2 separate regions of the Homo sapiens genome follow, and region 1 is linked to region 2. Evidence: promoter capture Hi-C in human tissues and cell types (Jung and others, 2019). All regions are on one chromosome and are shown on one strand. Each heading gives the region's core, a stretch centred on a gene start or on the middle of the fragment in contact. The rest is flanking DNA. Distances are from core to core; before and after follow the strand shown.

Evidence for each region. Contacts are between HindIII fragments. The study calls those that stand out against the background at their distance.
Region 1: a fragment that was not itself captured here is called in contact with the fragment with the promoter of NKIRAS2 in region 2 in 2 of the 25 tissues and cell types used here (lymphoblastoid cells and spleen).

The regions. Positions count from the first base shown.
Region 1 is chr17:42,487,479-42,493,508 of GRCh38, reverse strand. ATP6V0A1 (ATPase H+ transporting V0 subunit a1) reads right to left here. Exons shown (of 22, transcript NM_001130021.3): 11 at 2,872-3,022. Among named protein-coding and RNA genes, the nearest start is that of MIR548AT, 4.3 kb to the left of the region's middle. The HindIII fragment of the contact is 3,999 bases long and covers 576-4,574 here.
Region 2 is chr17:42,015,844-42,021,756 of GRCh38, reverse strand. NKIRAS2 (NFKB inhibitor interacting Ras like 2) reads right to left here and starts at 1,667. Exons shown (of 4, transcript NM_017595.6): 1 at 1,553-1,667; 2 at 86-193. The coding sequence starts at 179. DNAJC7 (DnaJ heat shock protein family (Hsp40) member C7) reads left to right here and starts at 4,318. Exons shown (of 14, transcript NM_003315.4): 1 at 4,318-4,417. The coding sequence starts at 4,341. RefSeq lists silencers at 1,374-1,783, 4,010-4,159 and enhancers at 4,270-4,679, 4,750-4,799, 3,910-5,109. The HindIII fragment of the contact is 10,906 bases long and covers 1-5,913 here.

The sequences.
Region 1 (6,030 bases), core at 1,326-3,825, 470 kb before region 2:
GATAACATTTCAAACAAAGAACAGTGGAAATGAAGGTGTAACCTTGACAACATTGGTTTGTTCTCTGACTCTCTTGTAACTCGTGGGACCCTGCTCCCAGGGCAGGCCAGCTGTCTTCTCTTTGTGCAGCAACCATGTCCCAGTGATATAAAGCTAAATATCAGATAACGTACAGATGGAGAGAGCCCAGAGCAAAGCAGTTCTTCCATAGGGCTCCAACTGAAAATGAATACTCACACTCTTGATTTAATAATTAACTCTCCAAATATAGGAGAAATCTGTGTTGTACCTAAAGTGGCCAATACTTGCTACATTTTTTCTGTCTAACCTTGGAACAGGGAAGCCAAAAAAAAAGCCATTTAAAAATATCAGACATCTTAGAAGAAACATTTTGCTTAAAACAGTTCCTGCAAATGATTTGCTAGAGAAGTCCAGGTGTTTTAGGGCTGTGAGGGCACATGAAAGAATCCAGTCTCATGAACTTTTTTTTTGAGACAGAGTCTTGCTCTGTCACTCAGGCTGGAGTGCAGTGGCACAATTTAGGCTCACTATAACTTCTGTCTCTTGGGTTCAAGCAATTCTCCTGTCTAGGCCTCCTGAGTAGCTGGGATTACAGGCATGCACCACCAGGCCTGGCTAATTTTCTTGTATTTTTAGTAGAGATAGGGTTTCACCATGTTGGCCAGGCTGGTCTCGAACTCCTGACCTTAAGTGATCCTTCCACCTTGTCCCCACAAAGTGCTGGGATTACAGGCATGAACCACCACGCCCAGCCGATGAACTTTTTTTTTTTTTTTTTTTTGAGACAGAGTTTCACTCTTTTTGCCCAGGCTGGAGTGCAATAATGCAATATCGGCTCACGGCAACCTCCGTCTCCCCGGTTCAAGTGATTCTCCTGCCTCAGCCTCCCGAGTCGCTGAGATTACAGGCAAGAGCCACCATGCCTGGCTGATTTTGTATTTTTAGTAGAGACGGGGTTTCTCCATGTTGGTCAGGCTGGTCTCGAACTCCTGACCTCAGGTGATCCACCTGCCTCGGCCTCCCAAAGTGCTGGGATTACAGGCGTGAGCCACCACACCTGGCCCAGCCGATGAACTCTTAAAGGAACGCTACCTGACAGTAAACCTGCCCCTTACATTAAATGGGCATCTTTTTGTTGTTGCCCAAGCTGGAGTGCAGTGGCATGATGTCGGTTCACTGCAACCTTTGCCTCCTGGGTTCAAGTGATTCTCAGGCCTCAGCCTCCCGAGTAGCTGGGACTACAGGTGCATGCCACCAAATCCGGCTAATTTTTGTATTTTTAGTAGAGGCAGGGTTTCACCATGTTGGCCAGGCTGGTCTCAAACTCCTGACCTCATGTGATCCACATGCCTCAGCCTCCCAAAGTGCTGGGATTACAGGCGTGAGCCACCATGCCCTGCCAGAATGAGCACCTCTTCACAGGGAGTACACAAGATCTGAGGTGTCAACATGTTTATTTATTTTTTAATAGAGATGGGGTCTCACTATGTTGCCCAGGCTGATCTTGAAATCCTGGGCTTAAGCAATCCTCCTACCTCGGCCTCTAAAAGTGCTAGGATTGGCTGGGCGCAGTGGCTCACGCCACCCAGCACTTTGTAATCCCAGCACTTTGGGAGGCCAAGGCGGGTGGATCATGAGGTCAGGAGATCGAGACCATCCTGGCTAACACAGTGAAACCCTGTCTCTACTAAAAATACAAAAAAATGGCCGGGCGCAGTGGCTCACGTCTGTAATCCCAGCACTTGGGGAGGCAGAGGCAGGCAGATCACCTGAAGTCAGGAGTTAGAGATCAGCCTGGGCAACATGGTGAAACCCCGTCTCGACTAAAAATACAAAATTAGCCGGGCGTGATGGCACATGCCTATAATCCCAGCTACTCGGGAGGCTGAGGCAGGAGAATCGCTTGAACCTGGGAGGCAGAGGATGTGGTGAGCTGAGATCGTGCCATTGCACTCCAGCCTGGGCAACGAGAGTAAATCTCTGTCTCACCTAAAAAAAATAAAAAAAAAATTAGCCGGGCATGGTGGCGGGTGCCTGTAGTCCCAGCTATTCGGGAGGCTGAGGCAGAAGAATGGCGTGAACCTGGGAGGCAGAGCTTGCGGTGAGCCAAGATCACGCCACTGCACTCCAGCATGGGTGACACAGCGAGACTCCGTCTCAAAAAAAATTAAAAATAAAATTAAATTAAAAAAACAGTGCTAGGATTAACATCTTTAATTTTAATTCAGTTATTCAACAGCATTTAAAGTGAGGCATTAGAAGAAACAATGAACAAAAAGGCCAGGCATAGTGGGTCACACCTGTAATCCCAGCACTTTGGGAGGCTGAAGCAGGAGGCTTCCTTGAGCCCAGGAGTCCAAGACTAGCTTGGGCAACATAACAAGACCCCGTCTCTAAAAAAAATTAAAAATTATCAGCCTGGGCAACATAGCAAAACCCATCTCTAAAAAAATTTTAAAAATTAGCCAGGCATGGTGACACATGCCTGTAGTCCCAGCTACTCCAGAGGTTCAGGCGGGAGAATCACTTGAGCCCACGAGGTTGAGGCTGCTGTAAGCCGTGATTTCACCATTGCACTACAGCCTAGGCAACAGAATGAGACCCAGTCAAAAAAAAATCATAAAATAAAAAATTAGCCAGGTGTGGTGCTGTGCGCCTGTGGTCCTAGCTATACAGGAGACTGAGTTGGGAGGATCTCTTGAGGCCAGGAGTTTGAGGCTGCAGTGAACTACAGTCGTGCTGCTGCACTCCAGCCTGGGTGACAGAGGGAGACTCTGTCTCAAAACAAACCAAACCAACCAAACAAACAAAAAAAACTCTAGAGGAAAAAGATAACAAGCTTTTTTTTACCTGGATTTATCTCTCGGTAAGTTCCAATTCCATAAGCATCTACTATGTTCTGAAAGCCATAGGTAAACTTGTTGGTTTTGTTATAGGTTGGGGGAGTCTGGTTTGTCTGCATCCTGTTCAAAATGGAAGGTACAGTGGAACCACTGTGTTCCTGAAAAACATTAGCACATTTATCAAACTTAGGTTATCCTCCTAATTGTGGTAGTGGTTACACAGGTGTACATTTCTTGAAACTCATCAAATGGTACACATAAAATGTATGTATTTTCTTTCATGTAAATTATATCTCAATAAAACTAATAAACCTAAAAATAAAACTAGATTATCTTTCCCAGCTTTTGGGAAAACTGGGAAAAGGTATAACATTTATAATGGAAGATTTCTATTAGATCCTCTGAAATACATCCTTAATGTGAAAAAAATTTAACTTTAAAATATGTCACCAAAGAAAATGTGGAACTGCCTCCATATCTGCCTTTTTATGAAAGTTGTTCTCCCCCTTTCATGGAGAAAGCAAAGTATGTTCTCTGGCTCTCCTTCTTCACTACCTTCTCTTAACTTCCTGATCCCTTGCAGTCTGGCTGAGCATGCTTAGGCAAAGTGACTGGCTCCTGACCAAAGAGCTTCTCTCCCCCATGCACGCCCCTGACATTGGAGATCTTTGGTGAAAATCCTTCTTCCTTAGGAGTTCTCCTCCTGCTCGCTGACCATTGCTTTTCTATCTTTGCTGGTTATTTCTGCTCTGCCTATCTCATAGCATTGCAAGACCCCAACCTTTTTTTTCTCTCTATGACCTCCCTCTTGGAGGTCTCATTCCCTTCCATTCTCATGACTCCCATTTCCTTAGCTTTGTTCCCTTGTCTGCTTGACATTTCCACATAGACCTCAATGTGCCCGGAACTGAACTTACCATCTCTCCCCAATCAATAAGCTTCTCTGGCTGAACATTTACTTCCCTCATTGGAACCCTAATTCTCCTGGCCAGTCAGCTTTGATGCCTCAAAAAGATGTTTAAATCTTTCTCCTTGTATTTCTCCTGCACCTTGCTAGGAACCAGGTAGCCCTATTGATTTTTCCTGCAGAACATCTCACAATTCATCATTTTTTTTCCCATTGTCAAGTCCTACCTGGGGATCCTTATCATTTACTACTCTATGTCTACAATAACCTCCTAACTGAACCCCTACCTACAGAATCTCTTCACTCCTCAATCCAACCTAGATACTATCAGCAGATTACTCTTTTAAAACTGCTTTGAGCCAGGAGAAGTGGCTCATGCCTGTAATCCCTGCACTTTGGGAGGCTGAGGCGGGTGGATCACCTGAGGTCAGGAGTTCGACACCAGCTTGGTCAACGTGATGAAACCCCGTCTCCACTAAAAATACAAAAAATTAGCTGGGTGTGGTGGCGCACACCTGTAATCCCAGCTACTCAGGAGGCTGAGGCAGGAGAATCACTTGAAGCAGGGAGGTGGAGGGTGGAGGTTGCAGTGAGCCGAGATCATGCCACTGCACTCCAGCCTGGGCAACAAGAGCAAAACTCCATCTCAAAAAAAAAAAAACCAAAAAACAAAAAAACTGCTTTGATCCACCAGGCGTGGTGACCCACTTTTTTTTTTTTTTTGAGACAGAGTCTCACTCTGCTGTCCAGGCTGGAGTGCAGTGGCATGATCTCAGCTCACTGCAACCTCTGCCTCCTGGGTTCAAGTGGTTCTCCTGCCTCAGCCTCCTGAGTAGCTGGGATCACAGGCACCCACCACCATACCTGGCTAACTTTTTTGTATTTTTAGTAGAGACGGGGTTTTGTCATGTTGGCCAGGCTGGTCTCAAACTCCTGACCTCAAGTGATGACCCGCCTCAACCTCCCAAAGTGCTGGATTACAAGAGTGAGTCACCACGCCTGGCCCCAACACTTTGGAAGGCCAAGGAAGGCAGATCACTCGAGCCCAGGAATTTGAGATCAGCCTGGGCAACATGGCAAAACCCTGTCTCTACAAAAAATTAGCCACGCATGATGGTGGGCACCTGTAGTCCCAGCTACCGGGAGTCTGAAGTGGGAGGATTGCTTAAGCCCAGGAGTTGGAAGCTGAAGTGAGCTGAGATGGCACCACTGCACTCCAGCCTGGGTAACAGAGCAAGATCTTGTCTCAAACACAAAATTAAAAATGTAAAAAACCACCCAAACTGCTTTGATCATGTTCCTTTACCCCTAAAGAACTTCCAATGTCTCTCAACTTCCTCTGGAATAAAATTTAAATCTTCTAAGCTATTATTTAAGAACCTTTCACAATTAAGTTCCAAACTACCTGATGCAGACAGGTACTTCTCTTCAGCTAACCCACTGTAAATCCTGTTCTTGTCCAAACATACATGGTCTAACCATACTTCCTGCCTTTGTTTTCTTCTCTTCATTCAGCAGTCTTACCAACAACTTATCATTCTTCAAAGACCTGATCAAATGCCACCTGCTTAAAGCTTTTTCCAACTCCATAGTTGGAACTCTCCTAATAAACTGTAAGATACTCGAGGGCATGTTTTATACATCTCTGTACTCCTCCAGGCACTTACAGCACTTCTGTGGACAGAGTAGTTGTTCTAATTAACTACTAAACAGAAACAGTCATATACAGAGAGGGCATCAGGAAACTGATGCCCTGGCCATGAACAACCCTGAAGAATCATGGGCATATGACCAAATTATTTCAGCTCTCTGAACTGCAGTCTCCACATATGCAAAATAAAGATATGCTATGCTACGCTATGATATACATATTATATGCCAGGCTATGTATGAAATGTGCTGTCAAGTTAAAAGACAAATAAATATATTGAAGAACTCTGAAGGTGAAATGCCATAAAAATGACATTAATGTTACTATTTATTTATTTTTTATTATTATTTTTTTTTTTTGAGACAGAGTCTCGCTCTGTTGCCCAGGCTGGAATGCAGTGGCGCAATCTCAGCTCACTGCAAGCTCCGCCTCCCAGGTTCACTTGATTCTTCTGCCTCAGTCTCCAGAGTAGCTGGGACTACAGGCGCCTGCCAACACGCCCGGCTAATTTTTTGTATTTTTTAGTAGAGACGGGGTTTCACCGTGTTAGCCAGGATGGTCTCGATCTCTTGACCTCATGATCTGCCCGCCTCGGCCTCCCAAAGTTC
Region 2 (5,913 bases), core at 418-2,917:
CTTTTAGCCTGTGTGTGTTGTGATCAAGTCCTATTCCTTATTTTTCAACTTCTTCCACTGTTCCTCCCCCTCCAACAACACTCACCCACTACATGGTTCCCATACAGAAGCTGCTCCAGGATTGAAGTTTTGCCCACAGACGCCTGGCCACACACGACCACCTTGCAGCTCTTCCCCATGCTTAGTTTTCAACCTTGAAGAACAGAAGCACGCTGGGTAAGGTGAGGAAAGAAAGCATCAACACAGAAGGCAGTTACTAGCAGATGTTTTCTGGTGGACAAAAACAAAAACCAAAAAAACAGAAGGCAGAACGTCCATAACTGAGAGTTCTAAACTGAATGTATAGTTCTAAACTGAATGTATAGTTCCAGGGTTTCAGCACCATCCCAATGCTAGTCAGAGGAAACGGATGTCTCCATGTCTACTACTGGATGGTAAGCTGTTATTTTATTCGTCTTTGTTATCCCCAGTACCTAGCCAGTATCTGTCACAGGGCAGGTGCTTGGAAATGCTGCCATAAAGGGAGAGGAGAGTCACTGGCCACTGGGCCAGGTTCCCTTCTGTGCGCAAGATGTAGAGGACCAATTAGTAAAGGGAGCTCAGCCCAGCTTCCTCTCTTTAACCATGACCCCATGGAGAATTAAGCAGGAACAGTGTTTTGTGTGGCTGTCTGAAGCCATCTGCTCCCTGGGGGGACTGAGCAAATAAAAAGGATAATCTGGGGCAGGGCACGGTGGCTCACGCCTGTAATCTCAGCACTTCGGGAGGCCGAGGTGGGCAGATCACAAAGTCAGGAGTTCGAGACCAGACTGGCCAACATAGTGAAACCTCATCTCTACTAAACATACAAAAAATTAGTCAGGCGTGGTGGCGGGTGCCTGTAATCCCAGCTACTTGAGAGGCTGAGGCAGGAGAATCGCTTGAATCCAGGAGGCGGAGATTGCAGTGAGCCAAGAATATGCCACTGCACTCCAGCCTGGGCGGCAGAGCAAGACTCCGTCTCAAAAAAAGACAATCTGCTTTCCTGTACGACTCATCTGGACAACAATCAATTCCCTCTAAACTCCAGTCAAGTCTATGGCTAAAATGAACATAAGACAAGAGAGAAAAGAATGAAGAAACCTACGGAAAAAAAGGCTTCAGAAAGGACATACTTTTTGCTGCCCTTGGACTGACAGACACAAAAGAGAAAGCTCAGATACAGAAACCCTAAGAGGTCCCAGACAGATATCTCCCCGAAGGCAAACTTCCAAACACAAGCCCCCCAAAAGCTCCAGACAAAGATCCCCCCCAGAGAGCAGAGATAGATCACTCCCAAAGACGGTCCCTAACAGAAACCTCTCCAGGGGAAGCTCCTGACACAGACCCCCTCTCCATATAGCGAGCCCCACAATAAAGGACACCATAAGAGTGGGCCAGAGGTGCCTCCGCCACAGATTTTCTCACGGGGGAGCCCCCAGAGGGAATGAGAGGCAGAGACCAGCCACCTAAAGCGGCCCGGAGGCGGAGGCCGATCCTAGCGCCGGACGAGCCTCGCCTCCCAGGTCCGTACCTCCCGGGGCCCCCGCAGCACCAGCCGGGCCCTCCGAGCTCGCGGGGACCAGGGGAGGGGCAGCGCCGCCGCAAAGGCTCCAGTCTTCCTCCAGAGTCGGTGTAGGCTCCTCCAGGCCCCGCCCCCGCCGCCTGCCCGCTCCCCAGCTTCCGTCAGGCAAGACGAATTCCGGCAGCGGAGAGAGAGCGCGGACCGCGCAGCTCCCCCAGAGGCCGGCGGGAGAATGACGGCCAGGACCTGGCCTGGGTGTGCGCGGGAGCCCAAGGTTCTAGACTCCCTGGACGCGGGCCGCTGGGTGTTCTGGTGTCTCTGAGGCCCAGATGTTCTCTCTGTAAAGGCGATCAGAGTACAGTAACTCTTCGTTTACTCAATCATTTATTCGTCAAATGTTTTCTGAGCATCATCTGTCTGTGCCTGGTGCAGGGCCATATACTGAGAGAAAGTGGACGAGTTAGACATGGTGGCTGCCCATCAGAACTCACGGTCTAGAGAAGCTAGATGTCTAACAACTACTGAGGTGCTGTGGAGCACAGCAAAAGGGCATTTAACGTTGAGTCAGCAGACACTGAAGGGCCTGGGGGAAAGGGTGTTCTAGGGTGGAGGAAACGGCTACAAGTCATGGCATTTTCTGAAACTATGAGAACTTGGGTTCAATATTGGTGGTAGAAAGGACCTAAATATTGGTACTCAAATTAAATTATTTAAAAAAAGAAACAGATAATCAAAGGCTTTGTGTGGTAGGCCAAAGAGATCAAATTGACGGCAATGGAAAGCCATTGCCAATGAAGAGACATGATCAGTCCCTGAGGAAGGTCACTCTGGCAGAAGAGGGAAGACTGAACAGAGATGAAATTAGAGACCGATTAGGAGACTATTGATGTATTCCAAGTTTTTTTTTCTGTTGTTTTGTTGTTGTTGTTGTTGCCGTTTTTGAGACAGGGTCTTGCTCTTTTCTCCATGCTGGAGTACATTGGTGTGATCATAGCTCACTGCAGCCTCTAACTCCTGGGCTCAAGTGATCCTCCTGCCTCAGCCTCCCAAATAGCTGGGACTACAGATGCATGCCACCACACCCAGCCTATTCCAAGATTTTAAAAAATGATGAGCGCCTGAATCGGGATGGAAAGGTGGAGATAGATTTGGGAAATATTTGGTAGGAGAATCAACAAAACTTGGCAACAAATTGGAAGCCAAGAGTGAGAATGGTTTAATCCATTTAACAAGATACGGAATTTAGGAAAGATAATAATTACATCCAACATTTGTTTTTTCTGTTGTTGAGGTGTGGGTAGACAATGAAAAAGTTAAATTTAAATATGGTAAGCCTTGGGGATTTGTGAAACATACAAGAGATATCCAGTAGATAGTTGGATATACAGCTGTGGAAGCTGAAGAAAGGTCTAGGTTGGAGATATGAAAAGTTGAGAGTCATCAACAGATGGAAGTAAAGCTGTGGGAATAAATGAGTTGCCTTAGATAGAACATAAAGTGGGAAGATGGTGAGACAGGTTGGCTAGCATTAGACTGGACTATGAGCCACTGGCAGGCAGGGCAGGTGGTCTGTAAGTCTTGTGCCCTCACAACCTAGCACAGAGTAGGCGTTTTGGAAAGGGCTGAGTGATTGGCTCAACGAATGACCCCTCCTTTCCAACCTAGTGAGCTTGTCCTATCCCTCCCTACTCAGTGGTCGCTGTGGTTTCAGCTCCCTCCACACTGGGATAGGCAGAGTATGAGCATTGGCACATGCTGTTTTCCTGGAACAAACAGGTAAATCCTTTTAAAATTCCTTTGCCCTCTTCTTATTTTACTCTTAGCTTTACATTGTAAAGCTACTCCTCATACTCCTCCAATTTAACCCCAGAAAGCTCCAATTTAATTCAGCTCCACAAATAGTCGTTTGGGTGAGGGAATAACAACAAAGACAGTTAAACTGTGCCCTTGTCCCCTATGAATTCTCAATCCAGACCGCATTCGGCAAGGCAAGCGTGATGAGTAGAGAGTTTATATAAGAGGTGGGAGTACTGGGGACACAAGAGCAAGGACCTCACCCCGCGAGCTTCCTTATAAACTCCAGGGCAGGGTCTGGGGCGCCATGTGTCAGCTTTCCTAGGCTTAATGCTGAGATGGCACTCCCAGGCGGCTGACATGAAAGGAGCCTTGTAAAAGGGTCAGCGTCATTAGGGTGATGAACCAGTTGGTGTTTGGAGATCCGGAGTGGATGAAAGGCGCAGGGTGAAGACGCCCTGCGTTCCCCTGGCTTGACTGGGCAGGGCTTCCAGAGAACGATGAAAGCTGGGGGAACTGAGCTCAAAGTGTCTCTTGACTTTCCCGGGAAGAAGCTGTGGACACACTCCAAGGTCGGAAAGGTAGCAGTGGGGACTCCTTCCCTACAGAGTCTTGGGTCACCTGGTCCCCACGCAACCCAGACTCCACGGAGCCTTTCAGGAAGACTCTCTAGGATTGGAAGTTGCTATGGCAATGAGGCTCTTGGAATACTGAAAGCAGCCAAGCCCTAGAGAGGCTACCACCGGTACACCCCGCCTTCCCACCCACGGGTAAAGTGGCGCCGCCTACGCACCGGCACAGCCCCTGGGCTCCCGCCCCGGCGCGGAGACCACCGTGGACATCCGGGGGCGGGAGGCCGCTCTGGCCCCAAGCGGAGCCTCTCTCTGGTAGACGAGCCCGAGGGAGCCCTTCTGGGCGCGGCGCCGCGGAGCTGCTCTATGCTCCAACCGGAAGTGCTCTTCACCGCCGGCCTCCCACCCAGCTCTCTGGTCCCGGCGGTAAGATGGCGGCTGCCGCGGAGTGCGATGTGGTAATGGCGGCGACCGAGCCGGAGCTGCTCGACGACCAAGAGGCGAAGAGGTAACCGGGTAGCAGGGTAGTAGAGGAGGCGACCTGCAGCTCCGTGGCTCAGGGAAACTCGTTCCTGCCATGATGCAGCCCCCAGCTGTTGAGGCGATGCCCCGCCCTCCGCAAACACCCCCCCATCTGAGATCAAGGCCGGATGGACCCCCTGAAGGGGCGCTCTTGGGGGTCGGCCTTCCTCTCCCGCTTCCGCCTGGCGTAGGAGCTGAGGCATGGCCTTGTTCTCCAGCTGAGAGGACGATCGTCCTTATAGGAGAGGCCGAGTCTCCGAGGGCAATTTCAGAGGTCTGGTGCGAGGTGGGGGAAGCGGCGCGGCGTCGATGACGACTTCCTTACATCGCCCCCGACCCCCGCGTTCTCTTGTTAACTTCTGTGCATTGTTGCCTGTCTGCACTTTCCGTCTCCAAAACCTTTGCTCTCCTCACCCCGTTTTCCCTTGTAATTATACCCCAGCGATCACTAGTCTGGGTTCGAAGTGATTGTGTGTCTCCATAATTGACCTGGTTGCCCCCGGTTATCCCAGAAGTCAAAGATGACAGAGAAAAAAAGGAAGAGCGAGGGGCTTATCTCGTGTTCTCTACGTCAGACTCCTCTTCCCCTGTCCTTCCTGGGTGATCTTTATCCTTCCCAGCACTGTTCTTTCTTAAGTTAAGCACCAAGGAAGAGGGCAACTGCTTGGGCGCTGTTGGCACTCCGAAGCAGCCGCAGTGGTTCGAGATTGCCAGTCGGACTAGCCAAGGGAGCTGCTGAGTGAGTGGTTTTCGAGAACGCTCTAGATTCTGGCAACAGTTAGGCCAGATTATTGGAAGTGGGGTTGGAACAGAGTTGTGGGTAGTCATACTTGTTCTAATCCTAAAGCAGAATTGACAAGAAGGTTCTAGAAGTTTGGAGCCCTTTCCTTATCAGCTGCGGGTTAGTCTGACCCTTTTGTTCAAGATATCTACAGTGCCCTCAGTCTCTTTGCAACATACTTTATATCTTCATACCAAGCCCGTTGTGTCTTCAGGCTGGGTAATTTGAGGCGGTGATGTAGAATTAGTTCATGAGATCTGAAATCAGGATTCTGAGATTTTTACTATCTAATGAGTTCGAAATATAAGAAGTACTCGGACGCAATGAATAGTTATCAAGCTTGAGGGTGGTTACCACAGCCAGATCTCAAGTTCCTGATCTGCTGGGAGCTGAGGGGCCTGACAAAGTGTAATAGGCCCCTGGGATATCAGAGAAGCCAGGACACCAGAGTCCAGTCTCTGTTCTTAATTTTGAGCTTTCATGTTGTTCCTACTTCTTCCTAGATATTTAAAGCTAAGCATCATCAACCCTTATACATCATTAAAGAGCTGCACAATGGGAAACAAAATTCCTCCCAGTGCAGACGGAGCTTAAATTAATTGTAGAGATTTACTTGTATTTGGAAAGAGTTCAGTGGTTCTTTATACTGTAAATAGGGATTTGGCCACAGGTTATTTATTTTTTATTTTTTGAGACGGAAT